4 separate regions of the Homo sapiens genome follow, and regions 2, 3 and 4 are each linked to region 1. The links are contacts of gene promoters, found by promoter capture Hi-C in blood cells and fetal thymus (Javierre and others, 2016). All regions are on one chromosome and are shown on one strand. Each heading gives the region's core, a stretch centred on a gene start or on the middle of the fragment in contact. The rest is flanking DNA. Distances are from core to core; before and after follow the strand shown. Region 1 holds the start of ZNF487 (zinc finger protein 487). Region 2 overlaps RASGEF1A (RasGEF domain family member 1A). Region 3 holds the start of RASGEF1A (RasGEF domain family member 1A). Region 4 has its middle 21 kb from the start of RASGEF1A.

Region 1 (3,382 bases), core at 520-3,019:
CTCCTGCCTCAGCCTCCCGAATAACTGGGATCACAGGCATGTGCCACCACACCCAGCTAATTTTGAATTTTTAGTAGAGTTGGAGTTTCACCATGTAGGCCAGACTGATCTTAAACTCCTGATCTCAGGTGATCCACCCGCCTTGGCCTCCCAATGTGTTAGGATTACAGGCGTAAGCCACCACGCCCGGGCTTTTTATTTTTTTTCTTAATGATGCTGCACCTAATCACATTTAGGTGGCAGGCAAAAGAATATTGCTTAGCTGCTTTGCTACAGAAATGACAACTCTTGGGCAGGGGCGCGGTGGCTCACGCCTGTAATCCTACCACTTTGGGAGGCCGAGGCCAGTGGATCACCTGAGGTCAAGAGTTCGACACCAGGCCGGGCACGGTGGCTCATGCCTGTAATCCCAGCACTTTGGGAGGCCGAGACGGGCGGATCACGAGGTCAGGAGATCAAGACCAACCTGGCTAACACGGTGAAACCCCGTCTCTACTAAAAATACAAAAAATTAGCCGGGCGTGGTGGCGGGCGCCTGTAGTCCCAGCTACTCGGGAGGCTGAGGCAAGACAATGGCGTGACCCTGGGAGGCGGAGCTTGCAGTGAGCTGAGATCGCGCCACTGCACTCCACCCTGGGTGACAGAGCGAGACTCCGTCTCAAAAAAAAAAAAAAAAAAAAAAAAAAAGAGTTCGACACCAGCCTGGCCAAAATGGTGAAACCCCATCTCTACTAAAAACAAAAAAAATTAACCGGGCGTGGTGGCGGACGACTGTAATCCCAGCTACTCGGGAGCCTGAGGTAGGAGAATCACTTGAACTCGGGAGGCGGAGGTTGCAGTGAGCCAAGATCGCGCCACTGCACTCCAGCCTGGGCAACAAGAGCGAAACTTCGTCTCCAAAAAAAAAAAAAAAAAAAAGGACAACTTTTGATCCCTGAGGCTGCTAATTCCAACTGTGTGCATGTGCTTAACAAATACCTCCGCACCCAGGCCTGGGAAGTTGGCTGATTTGTGTACAGCAAATACGGCAGGCCTGATGTAGCAGAACTCTGACGAAAACGAACTGGACGCGTATTTCTCCTGCAGCGAAGGTCACGCTGCTGACAGCCTCTGCTTTGCACTTTGTCCCTGGGAAGGAGGCCTGTGGCCAGTCCTACCTCCTGGAAAGCCGGGGTGCGTCAGAGGACCTGATGCGGAGCGGGGACCCCATCCTCTCCGTGTCTCCCCAAGAGCCGGCGGCAGAGGCTGCCTGCGCTCCTTAAGCTAGGTCAGTTCTCTGGCCCGCAGTTCTCGTTCTCCTAACATCCTCCGCAGAAAACGACCTTCATTTTTTCCTCTTGCGCCAGTCTTGAAGCGGGGCGTCCTTTGGGCTCACGTTGCGGCGCCCAGCGGCCTCAAGCGTCAGCTGCCTCCAGGGCCTCAGGAGCAGTGGCTAGGGCCTGCCCTCCAGCGCCCGGGGTCCTCGGCCCAGCCCTGCTCCGAGCGCGTCACAATGGCGTCGCGGCCCCGCCCCCGGACGCCCAGCCGCGGTCCCAGCGACCTTCGCTTTCGTGGGGAAGCCGGACTGCGCCGTGTCTTCCTGAAGAAGGCTGGGGTAAGAGTCCGGCCAGCGGACAAGAGGGCAGCTGGTAGCAGGGTGGGATGCCCGTGGCATAGGGCCGAGCCCCCGCTAGGCACGCGGGAGCAGCAAGGCTTCCGGAAGCGCAGGGAGCGCTGGACTGGCGGGCGCCCGGGATTCGCGCAGGCCCCGCCCCTCGGCGGCCCCGCCCAGGGAGCGCTGCGGCAGTTTCCATGGTGAGATGGTCAACAAGCCTGTAAGTTCCTCAGCTACGACTACCAGGTACCTCGGGTTCCTCCCTCCTCCGAGAGACCGCCGAGGTGCGGGCTGTGAGAGGGGGAGCGTGGAGCCTCCGAGGCCGAGGTGAGGGGCGGCCGGCGGGCAGGGGCCGGGTCTGAGGTCGAGGGCCGCACACCCAGGATCGAGCGGGGACTGGGCCCGCTGGGGGTGGGGACCGTGGGGCTGGGATTTGGGATCAGGGCGAGTCGTGGCAGAGAGAACCCGGAGGATCTTTGACCCCAGTGCGGGAGCGGCCAGCCCACCCTAGAGAAGCGAGACAAGGGCAACCAGAAGGAACCGAGTCTGAGGAAGCGCTTCCTCTGGGCAGGGATATTGGGAGAGTCCTGGACGAGTGACCCTGGACCTAGGAGGCATGAGAGGTCTACACACACTTGCAAGGATACCTTCATGATTGTTGAGTTGTGGTGAGAAAAGAGGCTCTTTTTAGTTTATTTTTTAAGGCAGTACATTCACATCCTTAAGAGTCAGAAACTTGCACAAGGCCTTATTACTCAAAACTCCCTTTTCCCAGTTCCTTCTGAGGAAATAGTTGCAAATCTTTGAACTTTTTTCCTCCGGAAATTTTCTTTTTTTCTCTTACATCGGCAGCTCTTCACTGTGTTCTTCCTTCATTAGCTTTACTAAGTTTGTATTCTTTGGTTGGAAATATTTATTTATTTATTTATTTATAAATAGAAACAGGGGTATCACTATGTTGCTCAGGCTGGTCTTGAACTCCTGGGCTCAAGTGATTCTCCTGCTTTAGCTTTCCAAAGTGCGGGGATTACAGGCTGAACCACCGCCTGCCACCGAAATATTTCTTCATTGAGTTCCTTTGCCTCCTAGTGTTACTTTTCTGCTGTGTGTGTAATAGCCATTTGTTTTTTCTTTCTCCTTTCTGGTCATATCCTTAAATACATTTTGCACTAATTCCTTTTGAAACCTCATCATGGAGAGAACTTGAATTTAGCAGATTAGGGGTGAGTGCAGGCTTTTGTCTTAGGTTCCATATATATATATATTTTGAGGTGGAGTCTCCCTCTGTCGCCCAGGCTGGAGTGCAGTGGCGTGATTTTGGCTCACTGAAACCTCCACCTCCTGGCTTCAAGCAATTCTCCTGCCTCAGCCTCCCAAGTGACGAGGGTTACAGGCACGTGCCACCACACCCGGCTAATTTTTGTATTTTTAGTAGAGACAGGGTTTTGCCTTGTTGGCCAGGCTGGTCTCGAATTATTGACCTCAGGTGATCCACCTGCCTCAGCCCCCCAAAGTGCTGGGATTACAGGCGTGAGCCACTGCACCCAGCCCCCATATATTAAGAAATATACCCTTGTGTATTGTTGGTAAGAATGTAAAATGGTACAGCAGCTATGGAAAACAGTATGGCAGTTCCCTCAAAAAATTAACAAATAGAATTGCCATATGATCCAGCAGTACCACTTCTGGGTCTGAATCCAAGAGAAATGAAAGCGGGGACTCAGTTACTTGTACAGTCATGTTCATAGCAGCATTATTTGCAATAGTCAAAAGGGAGAGGTAACCCCA
Region 2 (3,382 bases), core at 366-2,865, 240 kb before region 1:
CTTTGGGAATTGGGACCTGGCCCATCCTCACCCAGGCTTCCCCATTGATCAAGGCTCCTGCGGAAACTGGGAATGCAGAGGGACAAGGATGCGGAGTTCCTGCGAGGGAGACGGTCCACGTGGATTGACCGTGTGCTTTCTGAAGGACAGCTGTCCTGCGCCATGGTCAGTAGGGCCCAGGGCTCACACCACGAAGTCAGACATGGGAAAATGGAGTGTGCTCCTCTAGCTGGGTGTAGAAAACACCTCTCAGTATTGGGCAGTTTTATCTGAATGGGCTCCAGCAGTATGGCCTGGCGAATTTTCTGTTTCCAATTCCAATTAGGGCGCTGCCTACCCAGGTGGGAAGAGGGCTGTTGGCTGCCCTCCCCTCTGTAGATGATAGGTTTCAAGACTAGCTCTAAATGTCACCACCCTGGAGTCGGCCATGTATTTTTCTTCATCACAGCTCAGTGTGTCTTTCAGTCACAGCCCAGAAAACTGACAACTCCATGCTTCCCTCCCTTACCTTATTTTAGATTTCCTCCTTTCTAAAATGTAGTTGAAGAATGATTTGCTGGACACATTGTCACAGAAAATATGCTGCCAGGTGCCCCCTGCCCCTCCCTGACCCCACAAATCCCTGAAAGGAAAATGAAAATGTAAACTTTGGACAGCCCGTACTCAAAGGCTCACTTCCAGAAGTGTGCGGACGCGACCTCCCAGCCACCAGCCCTCCTATGGAGCCTCGCAGCCCAGGCTCCTGAGGGCAGGCGCCCAGGTGGAGTGGGACTCACCGCAGCCCAAACCACAGAGCAGGAAGACCAGACCCCAGTACCCTCTAAGGCACTAACCCCGACGTCAGAGACACTGGCTGGAAAGGCGTCCGAGCAGGCAGGGCTCACGTTGGTTTTGGCTGGGTTTTTTAAAATATTTTTTTCATAAGATGTTAATAATCAAAAGTAGAAAATAAAAATCTACATTTCATTAGAATAAGATGTTATCATGGATACCATCTCCCATGATACTCTCCCCTCCCCCTCCCCAAAGCAGGGCCCTGCCCTGTTATTTAAAATAAACAAAAAAAACTTTGTAAGTGCCAAAGGTTGATGCGTGAAATAATTACCATTTTTTTCTCATAAAAGTTATATACAAAATGGACCCCAACCAGTGAGGCCTCCTCATCTCAACCCACATCAGTCAAAATTTAAACCCAGTTAGTGCACGTGCTTCCTCTGGCGTCGCGGGCTGCATCCGCCTCAGGCTCTGTTCAGAAGGGTGGTCCTAGAGGGGGACAGGACAAGCAGTGCTCAGGCCCGAGCAGGGCGGCTTGGGTCCAAGCCATCCTCAGCCTCCCACCAAACATGCACCAGGGACCCTGGACCAGGGACGCGGCAGTGCCCAGGCTCCCTTTCCAGGAGGGTAACCCTCGTGCCCACCCTGAGTCCTCCCTCTTCCTTACAGACTCCCATGTTCCTGACGCCCTCCTACCTGAGGGTCTTCCAGCTGTCTTTTTCCATGTGGTTCTCGGGACCCTCACTTTCAAAGGAGGCGACGAAGAGAGCTGAGAGATGGGAAAGTCCCTCAGAGCCTGTGTCCCCATGCAGTGTCTGCCTGAACCCAGCTGTCCCTTCAGGAGTACAGCCCAGCACAAGGGGACAGTGACCTCTGGCTGGGCTGAACACAGTTCTCTGCTGTGCGGGGCTCTCAGGCTGCCTGTTGGGGACTCTAGGAAGGTTCCTCGTGTTGCAGCACCTGACCTAAGCCCATGTGACCCTCTCCAGTGGCTGCTGGAAACTGAGTCTCTTGTCCTTCTCTTCCATCCATCCCATGACCCACCCTCATGCACACTCGCCCCTGCGAGCAGAGCCAGCCCTGTGTGGCATGGAGCAGCCAGCAGGCCATCTCCCAGGGCAACCCCAAAGAGCACCGGGCCTGGACAAGGAGTCAGGTGGGGTGGGAGGCATGCTGCGTTGGGAGGCAGCCCTCACCTTCCTCGCTGTAGATGGGCGCCGTGAGCAGGTAACTCTGAATCTTCTTGTCCTTCTCGAAAGGACACTCTACCTGTGTCCATGTCATGAACTCATGGATCTGTCTGGAGATCTCCCAGAATTTCTGAAGGGAGCAAAACCAACTGATGTTCATCTGTCACCTTAAGCACCAAACCCTCGGTCAGGGCAGGGGACGTAGGTTTTGGCCTCAGCCTCCTGCTCACTTCACTGGTCCCAGCAAGATGGGACAGTGGCCCTGCACGCTGACCCCGTGGCCATGGTGGCACGCCATGCAGCCTCAGAGCCAGCAGGTGTCCCCCAAGGCCACTCTGTCTGGCCCTCCACCTGGGCCATCAGGCCGGCAGCAGGGTCTCTGCCTGTCTGTGCAGGGACCCAAAGAAGGCCCCACTGATAACTCCAGCCTGAGGCAGGCACCCCATCCAAACCCAGCCCAGCGGCGCCAACCAGAACGTGTCATGATGTCCCTTCTCTGGGACCTTCGGAAGGATCCCAGCTCCTGCCCACACCTCACCTGTGTGAGGTAGGCATCCGGCAGCCCACAGCCACCTACACCTGCCCTGCCACCTATGTCCCACCCTCCCATCCTCACCAGGTGCCCTCAGGCCCACGAGGCAGGCTCTTCACTTCCATCTAGAATTCTCTGCCGCCTCCTCCCTGCTCAAGTCCCTTCCTATCTAAACCCCTCCTGACCTCCAATCCCACAGGGGTGGACAGGGCTCTCTCCCTGGTAGGGCCAGGCTGGAACCACGGTCCTGGATAAATACAATTCCCTGTGACTCCAAGCTCTGCAACTAGGCCATCCACCCAGAAGTACCGGCAGGCGCACCTCATACCTTGCAGTCAAACAGCACCCCGTGACCCACTATGAGGCTTTCAGTCTTGAAGGCCCTTGTGAACCTCAGGCAGGGCTCAGGAAACCCACAGATCCCGACCCAGGGCTAATGCCTGGCGGCTCCAGTAGCTCAGACAGTTTCCGCCTGGCCTGCCCTGTGCTGGGATGAGCTCACCTTAAAGTTAATGTGCCCGTTGGGCAGGTGGTTGGTATGGATTTTGTGCAGGAAGTAGATGTCCTTAACGAAGAGGTTGAACACAGGGATGACGATCTTTTCACGGCTGCTGTTGGCCATCTGGGACCTCTGCGTGGCCCCCTGCAGGGCTGTACGGTAGTTGCAGAAGTTGCTGGACGGGTCCATGTGATGCTGTGGGCACAGGGAGGACCTGGTGAGCATCACAGCCCCATGCCCCTCCGACCTGCTCCAGATGCCCCTCTGCAGAGCAGGAGGCAGCAGACAGAGAAGGCACCTGGCCCCTGGGCAGCCTGGGAGTTAGCACGGGGGAGGGGACGCCCAAGGGTGCCTGGCTGAGCCCTGGGGCCAGGGCTTCTGAGTTCA
Region 3 (3,382 bases), core at 493-2,992, 170 kb before region 1:
CCTGCTTGGTTCACAAACCCAGGGGCATGTGCAGGAGGACACAGCTTCTCTACTTCACTAGAGAGCCTGGGGGATCCACACAGCTCATGCCCTTCTCAGGAGCAGGGAGTGTGGGCCTGCTGCACCCGCCTCGCTGGGTCACTACCACCCACAGCCCTAAGGACACACACTGGCTGGAGGGGCAGAGAACCCACCCACGTGTCCCTGGCCATCCAGCCAAGGTCCTCCATGTCCCCCTGCTCCGGATCTCCCCTTCCTGGGCTGGGGTCCTGAGGTTCCAAAGCAAAGTGTCACTGGACATCAGGGTGGAAATGTCCTCAGAGGTCATCAAAACCGTGTCAGTCTACAGATGGGGAAACTGAGTCTCAGAAGCCTGCAGCCTGCCCGTGGTTCACGAATCAAGACCTGTAGCCTTTCGGCTGGAGGCCCCCTAGAGCCGCTTAGAGTCCAGGGCACCGAGGTGGACAGGCTGGGCTGGCAAGACTGCATCCGGAGGGGGCGGGAGAACCCTGGGGGGACAGAGGGAACCAAGGCCTCTGGGAGGCTCCCCTGCACCCAGCCTGACTCCTGTGTTTCAGGATCCTGCGGCCGACGGCCATCGGGGCCCTTCCTGCGCAGGACAGTGGGAGAAGAGTGGCAGTGGTGGGGAGGGTGAACCAGGGAGAAGCTCACTGCTCTGAGCAGGGAGGGAGGGAGCCCCGGCCACCACCAGGTCTCTGCCCCCAGGTGGCTCCCAAGAGGCAGGCAGCGGCCTCTCTGTAAATATCCACCAGGTCCAGCACCCAGAGGCAGCCAGAAATGCAGGGCACAGGAACCTGCCAGCGCGTCCCTCCACACACAGCAGGGGACTCCCGCCCCCACCTCTCACTCACCGACCCTCGGACCAGAACCAGCTGCACCTGCCCCGTTCCTGGGGCCGGCAAGGCCTGGGGCAAAGAGAGCGTGGTCCTTCAAATGACCCTTGCCCAGCAGGGAGAGGGAGACACCTGGCATGGCCCTGGACCTCTCCCCCAAATGCAGAGCTCAAGCCCCAATTCCTCGCCAAACAGCAAGGGCGTGAGATACCACGGCGGGGCCCAGAATGCAGAAGAGCAAATGGAAACTTCCAACTGCGCAGCCCTGAGCTCCTCCGATTCCCCAGCCCCCACCCCCACGCCAGGCCCCGGGCAGCGAACCTGCCCGCAGTGCCCACGCCCGCCCGCCGCGTGCGCTCCTGCCACGCCCGGCCCGGCCCGGCCCGGCCCGCCAGGTGCCCTGAAGGGGCGGAGGGTGCAGGGGGTCCTGGCGCCGTCCAGCCCGGGGCGGAGTTCTCAGCAACTCCGCGCGCCGGGATCCCGGCCGCCCTCCCCGCGCGCGTCCCCCGCCCCGCGCCCGGAGCCCGCGCCCCGGCCCCACGACGGCCGCGCCGGGAGGGACCCCGGGCCCGCGCACGCCGCGCCCTGCCCGCGCCGGCGACCGGAGGGCACGGCCCCAGGCGCGGGCGGGGGCCCCGAGGCACTGAGGGTCCGCGGCCGCTGCCTACCTCGGTCCGGGCCAGCGTCGCTCCCGCGCCGCCCTCGCGCCGCAGTCGGGCCCCGAGCAGCGCGCGGCCGGCGCCGGCGGCGGCTCATGCTCGGCGCCCGGGCCCGCGGCACCCGCCCACCCGCGGCCGCCCCCGCGCTGCGCCAGCTGCGGGCAGAGCAGCTCCCTCCGCAGCCGGCGCCGGGGAGCGCGAGCGAGCGAGCGAACGAGCGAGCGCGGAGCGAGCGCCGAGCGGGCACGGAGCGGGCGCGAGAGCGCGGGGAGCGGGGGAGCGGGCGGGCGCGGGACGCGGAGGGAGGAGGGTGCGGGGCAAAGGTGCAGGGGGAGGTAGGGCGCGGGACGGGGCTCGAGCAGAGGGCACTGGGACAGGGCGGGCGCCGGGAGAGGGCGGCCAGGCTTTCATTTAAAAAGGATAAGGCATCACGCCTGTAATCCCAGCACTTTGGGAGGCCGAGACGGGCGGATCACGAGGTCAGGAGATCGAGACCATCCCGGCTAACACGGTGAAACCCCATCTCTACTAAAAATACAAAAAAAAAAATTAGCCGGGCGTGGTGGCGGGCGCCTGTAGTCCCAGCTACTCGGGAGGCTGAGGGAGGAGAATGGTGTAAACTCGGGAGGTGGAGCTTGCAGTGAGCCGAGATCGCGCCACTGCACTCCAGCCTGGGTAACAGAGTGAGACTCCGTCTCAAAAAAAAAAAAAAAAAAAAAAAAAAAAGGATCAGGCAGCAGACAAGCTAGGAGGCGATGCGGCCACCGCATTTAAAAGGCCCTCTGGGGACTCCCGCAGAGCTGGCAAAATTTTTGTCAGTGGAATCAGACGGTGAAAGCCCTTCTGTGGGCAAGTCCTGGCCCCTTGGGTCACTCCCCTTAACCATCTTAATCGCCCTGTAAGGTCGGTGGTGGATTTGTTCCCATTGGACAGGTTAGTAAACTGATGCACAGGGAGTGCGGTTACCCTGCAGGGTCTCAGAGCCTATAAGTGGCAGAGCAAGGCTCCAAAGCCACCTTGAAAGATTTCAGAACCACTAAAGCAGGACACAGGTCTTCTGGCGTCCACTGGAACTTCCTGTCGCTCTGAAGGGTCACCTTCTCTTGAACGGACACCCTGTGGCCTGACCCCAGGGTGGCCCAGAGTGACTCTTGCAGGCAGTCAGACGAGGGCCAGTGAGAAACAGGTCTGGGGCGACGATGTCCCCAGGTGGAGGGGTCTGTGTGAAAAAATGGGGAGGAGCCCCACAGCACCCCTTGAAGAGGCTGAGGACCTTGCTTACTCACTTAGTCCTTGTGTCTTGAACACCTGTATGCCAGGTGTAAGATGGGGCACTGGGATTCGGCTGTGAATGTCTCTGTCTGGTTGGAGTTTGCATTCTTGTGGGAAGTAGGCAGTGAATAAAAATACACATAAATAGTTCATGTGTCAGATGCTGCAGATCCCACAGAGAGGCCCAGCAGGGAGAGGGAGCCAGCGAAGGGAGGGGGAGGGGAGCTTGTAGGGTGGGGGATTCTTTTTTATTTTTTAAGGGGAGGTGTCACTGTGTGGCCCAGGCTGGAGTGCAGTGGCTATTCACAGGTGCAATCACTATGCTCTACAGCCTGGAACTTCCTGACTCTAGTGAGCCTCCTGCCTCAGCCTCCTGAGTAGCTAGAACTGTAGTTTCTCACCACCACCCTTCCCTGCTGGGTTGGGGATTTTATTTTGGGTGATCAGGGAAATCTTGGCTGAAAGGATCATATCTGAGCTAAGACCTAACTGAGGCAAGCTATGCTGAATCCGAGGAATGAACATTTTCAGCAAAGAGAACAGTACATGCAAAGGCCCTGAGGTGGAGGATGCCTTAGAAGGAGGCCAAGTGGAGAT
Region 4 (3,382 bases), core at 643-3,142, 150 kb before region 1:
TGAAGCCAAGAGCGCAAACTGAGGCCTGGTCAAGCTGGGGAGAGGGCACAGGAGACAGAAAAGGATTCTTTCAGAGGGAGTGGGAGCGGGACAGGGAAAGAGGAAACAGAAGCGGATGTGGAGAAAGAATAATCCCGCCCCACCGAGGACTGTGGGGTGCTATGGGCTGCTCCACAGGGTGCATGTCTGTGCACGTGTCTGCGAGGGCACCTGTCGGTGTCTGGCGTGTGTACCCAGAGTGCAAAGGTGGCATACTCAGGCGCACTCGGGCACCCCCTGCAAGACAGCAGAGCTTGTTGGAATCTCTGGAACCCAGAGCGGGGAGGTGCTTGGCCTTCTTTGCTCCGGTGAGTCCCCACAGACCCTACAGGCCTGTGGCACAGGCACTGACCAACCAGGCCACAGGGAGTTGATGAGACCCTGTGACACCTGAATGCACCTCAGTGCACAGGTGCCTCCCAAGCATGCCCTGTGTTCATTCCCATGTTGGCCTTTCAGAGAGGAATGTTCTACCCATTTTACAGAGGACAGGGGGAGACCAGTGAGATCAGTTTTCTAGTCCCGTATTGCCACAAATGGGAGGCTGAGCCAGGAGGATCCCTTGAGCCCAGAGGTTCGAAACCAGCCTGGGCAACATAGGGAGACTCTGTCTCTACAAAAAATTAAAAAGTAGCCTGGTGTGATGGTGCATACCTGTAGTCCCAGCTACACAGGAAACTGAGACAGGAGGATCACTTGAGCTCGGGGAGTCGAGGCTGTAGTGAGCTGTGTTCACACCACTGCACTTCAGCCTGGGTGACAGAGCGAGACCCTGTCTCCAAACAAAAACAGTAACAACGAAAAGAGACTCCTGGGCTGTGCTGCAGGCTCTGGGAGGAAGCAGCAGAGGGGCCTGGGCTCCGAGGGCTTTGAGACCCTGGAGAGGACCTGGGAGTCAACACCTGTCCTCCTCCTTCACTTGCTCCAGGACAGGGTGGAAGTGTAGGCATTTGGGCTTCAGAGGCCAGGCGGAGTCTGGAGCAACCCCAGGCAGCAGAGTGGCCCCACTCCAGGAAACTCCTCCAGGTGAGCCCACAACTGACCACAAGGCTTGCCCTGCCCCCATGTGCCTTGGGCAGAAGAAACAGAACAGTCACACCGGTAAACAGGAAGTGGAAGGGCGAGGAGGAGCCCAGTCGTGAGTCACTGTAATTTAAACACCCAAGGCAGACAAGTAGCACAAAAGAGGAAACCAACACATCTCATGGAAAACACATTCAGGGACCCAGAGCTAATACAACAAACAGAATAAGACTTTAGAATAAGTATAATTAATATCCACAGAGAGATGTGCGTAAATAGGAAGCCAGAACATATTCCACTGCAAATCTTGACAGCATCCAGATTGGAAAGGAAGAGGTAAAACTCTCTGTTTGCAGATGATGAAATCTTGAATATAAAAAGTACTAAGGAACACACACACACACACACACTCACAGCTAATAGCAAGTTCAGCAAGGCTGTAAGGTGCAAGGTGAATATGCAAAAATCGGTCATATTCTATACACTAGCAATGAACAAACTGAAAATCAAATTAAGAAAACAATATAATTTGGAGGGACACCATAACAAAATGCCACCAATTGGGTAGCTTATGGGTAGCTTACAAATATATTGTCTCATAGCTCTGGAGGCCAGAGGTCCAAAACCAAGGTGATGCAGGGTTGGTTCCCTCACAGAAGGCCGTAGGGGAAAGCTCTGTCCCAAGCCTCTATCCTTATTTCTGATAGCTCCTTGGCTTGCGGCAGCAAAACCCCAGGCTCCACATGCAGTTCTCCCTGTGTGCCTGAGCCTGTGTCTGTGTCCAAATTTCCCTTTTAATAAGGACACCAGTTACATTGGATTAGGGCCCACCTTGTTCCAGGGTGACCTCATTCTAAGTCAATTATTTGCATCTGTAGTTACCCTATTTCCGAATAGGGTCACATTCTAAAGTACTAGGAAGTGAGACTTCAGCATATGAATTTTGGGGAGATATAGTTCAACCCATAACAAATTCTGTTCACAAGGGCATCAGAAAGAATAAAATATTGACCGGGCACTGTGACTCCCAGCACTTTGGGAGGCCAAGGCAGGAGGATGGCTTGAGGCCAGGAGTTTGAGACCAGCCTGGGCAATATAGCAAGACTCTATCTCTACAAAAAATATATACATAATTAGCTTCTCAGGAGGCTGAAGCAGGAGGCTCACTTAAGCCCAGGAGGTTAAGGCTGCAGTGATCCGTGTTGGCACCACTGCACTCCAGCCTGGGCAACACAGAAAGACCCTGTCTCAAAAAAATTAAAAGACTGAAAATTTATGAATAAATTTAACAAAAGAAGTGCAAAACTTGTACACTGAAAACTATAAACACAGTTGGGAGAAATTAAAGAACACTTAAATAAATGGAAAGACATCCACATTCATGGATTGGGAGACTTAATATGGTTAAGACGGCAATACTTCTTAAAGATCTCTGGGTTCACAGAATCCATATCAGAATCCCAGGTGAATTCTCTGCAGAAAGTTACAAGCTGTTCTGAAAATTCATATGAAAATTCAAGGAACCCAGGATAGTTAAAAAAATCTTCAAAAAGAAGAACAAAGTTGGATGACTCACAATTCCTGATTTGAAAACTTACTACAAAGCTACAATAATCACCAGGTGTAGTGGCTCACAGCTACAATCCCAGCACTTTGGGAGGCCGAGGCAGGAGGATCACTTGAGTCCAGGAGTTCAAGACCAGCCTGGTCAACATAGGGAGACCCTGTCACTAAAACTAATTTAAAAAGTAGCCAAGTGTGGTGGTGTGCACCTGTGGTCCCAGCCACTTGGTAGGCTGAAGAAGGAGGATCGCCTCAGCCAGGGAGGTCGAAGCTGCAGTGAGCTGTAATCCAGTGCCACTGCACTCCAGCCTGAGTGACAGAGCAAGACCCTGTCTCAAAAAAATAAATAAAATAAAATAAAATAACTTTTAAAAGAACACCAAAACAAGCCAGGCTTGGTAGTACATGACCATAGTCCCAACTACACAGCAGGCTGAGGCAGGAAGATCACTTGAGCCCAGGAGTTGGAGGAGTCGTATGCAATGATCACACGTGTGACAATAGCCACTGCACTCCAGCCTAGACAACACAGAGAGACCTTGTCTAAAACAAACAAACAAACAAAACCCAAATAGAAATTACCAACCACTTAGAAATGGGTGACAGAACAGAATATTCCACTTTTTAAACTTGTGAAATGTTTCAAAGCAATATCCACAGAAAATGTAGAAGCCTTAATACGTTTATTAGAGAAAAGGAAGATTAAAAATAAATGAACTACTATCTTAGTTCAAAAACAGGAACACTAACATTAAAA

Evidence for each region. The method cuts DNA at HindIII sites, captures the fragments that hold promoters and counts their contacts. A CHiCAGO score of 5 or more calls a contact.
Region 2: a fragment that was not itself captured here is called in contact with the fragment with the promoter of ZNF487 in region 1 in 1 of 17 cell types (neutrophils); the score reaches 5.7 in neutrophils.
Region 3: the fragment with the promoter of RASGEF1A here is called in contact with the fragment with the promoter of ZNF487 in region 1 in 1 of 17 cell types (neutrophils); the score reaches 8.8 in neutrophils.
Region 4: a fragment that was not itself captured here is called in contact with the fragment with the promoter of ZNF487 in region 1 in 4 of 17 cell types (naive CD8 T cells, monocytes, neutrophils and 1 more); the score reaches 6.9 in naive CD8 T cells.

The regions. Positions count from the first base shown.
Region 1 is chr10:43,435,342-43,438,723 of GRCh38, forward strand. It overlaps ZNF487 (zinc finger protein 487), which reads left to right and starts at 1,770. Exons shown (of 4, transcript NM_001355444.3): 1 at 1,770-1,921. RefSeq lists an enhancer at 1,225-1,294 and a silencer at 1,395-2,054. The HindIII fragment of the contact is 37,036 bases long and covers 1-3,382 here.
Region 2 is chr10:43,195,006-43,198,387 of GRCh38, forward strand. RASGEF1A (RasGEF domain family member 1A) reads right to left here. Exons shown (of 13, transcript NM_145313.4): 10 at 2,999-3,190; 11 at 1,971-2,094; 12 at 1,471-1,543; 13 at 1-1,263. The coding sequence ends at 1,239. Among named protein-coding and RNA genes, the nearest start is that of CSGALNACT2, 58 kb to the left of the region's middle. The HindIII fragment of the contact is 7,336 bases long and covers 1-3,382 here.
Region 3 is chr10:43,265,323-43,268,704 of GRCh38, forward strand. It overlaps RASGEF1A (RasGEF domain family member 1A), which reads right to left and starts at 1,743. Exons shown (of 13, transcript NM_145313.4): 1 at 1,523-1,743. RefSeq lists an enhancer at 373-1,248. The HindIII fragment of the contact is 10,296 bases long and covers 1-3,382 here.
Region 4 is chr10:43,286,361-43,289,742 of GRCh38, forward strand. No RefSeq gene overlaps it. Among named protein-coding and RNA genes, the nearest start is that of RASGEF1A, 21 kb to the left of the region's middle. The HindIII fragment of the contact is 4,272 bases long and covers 1-3,382 here.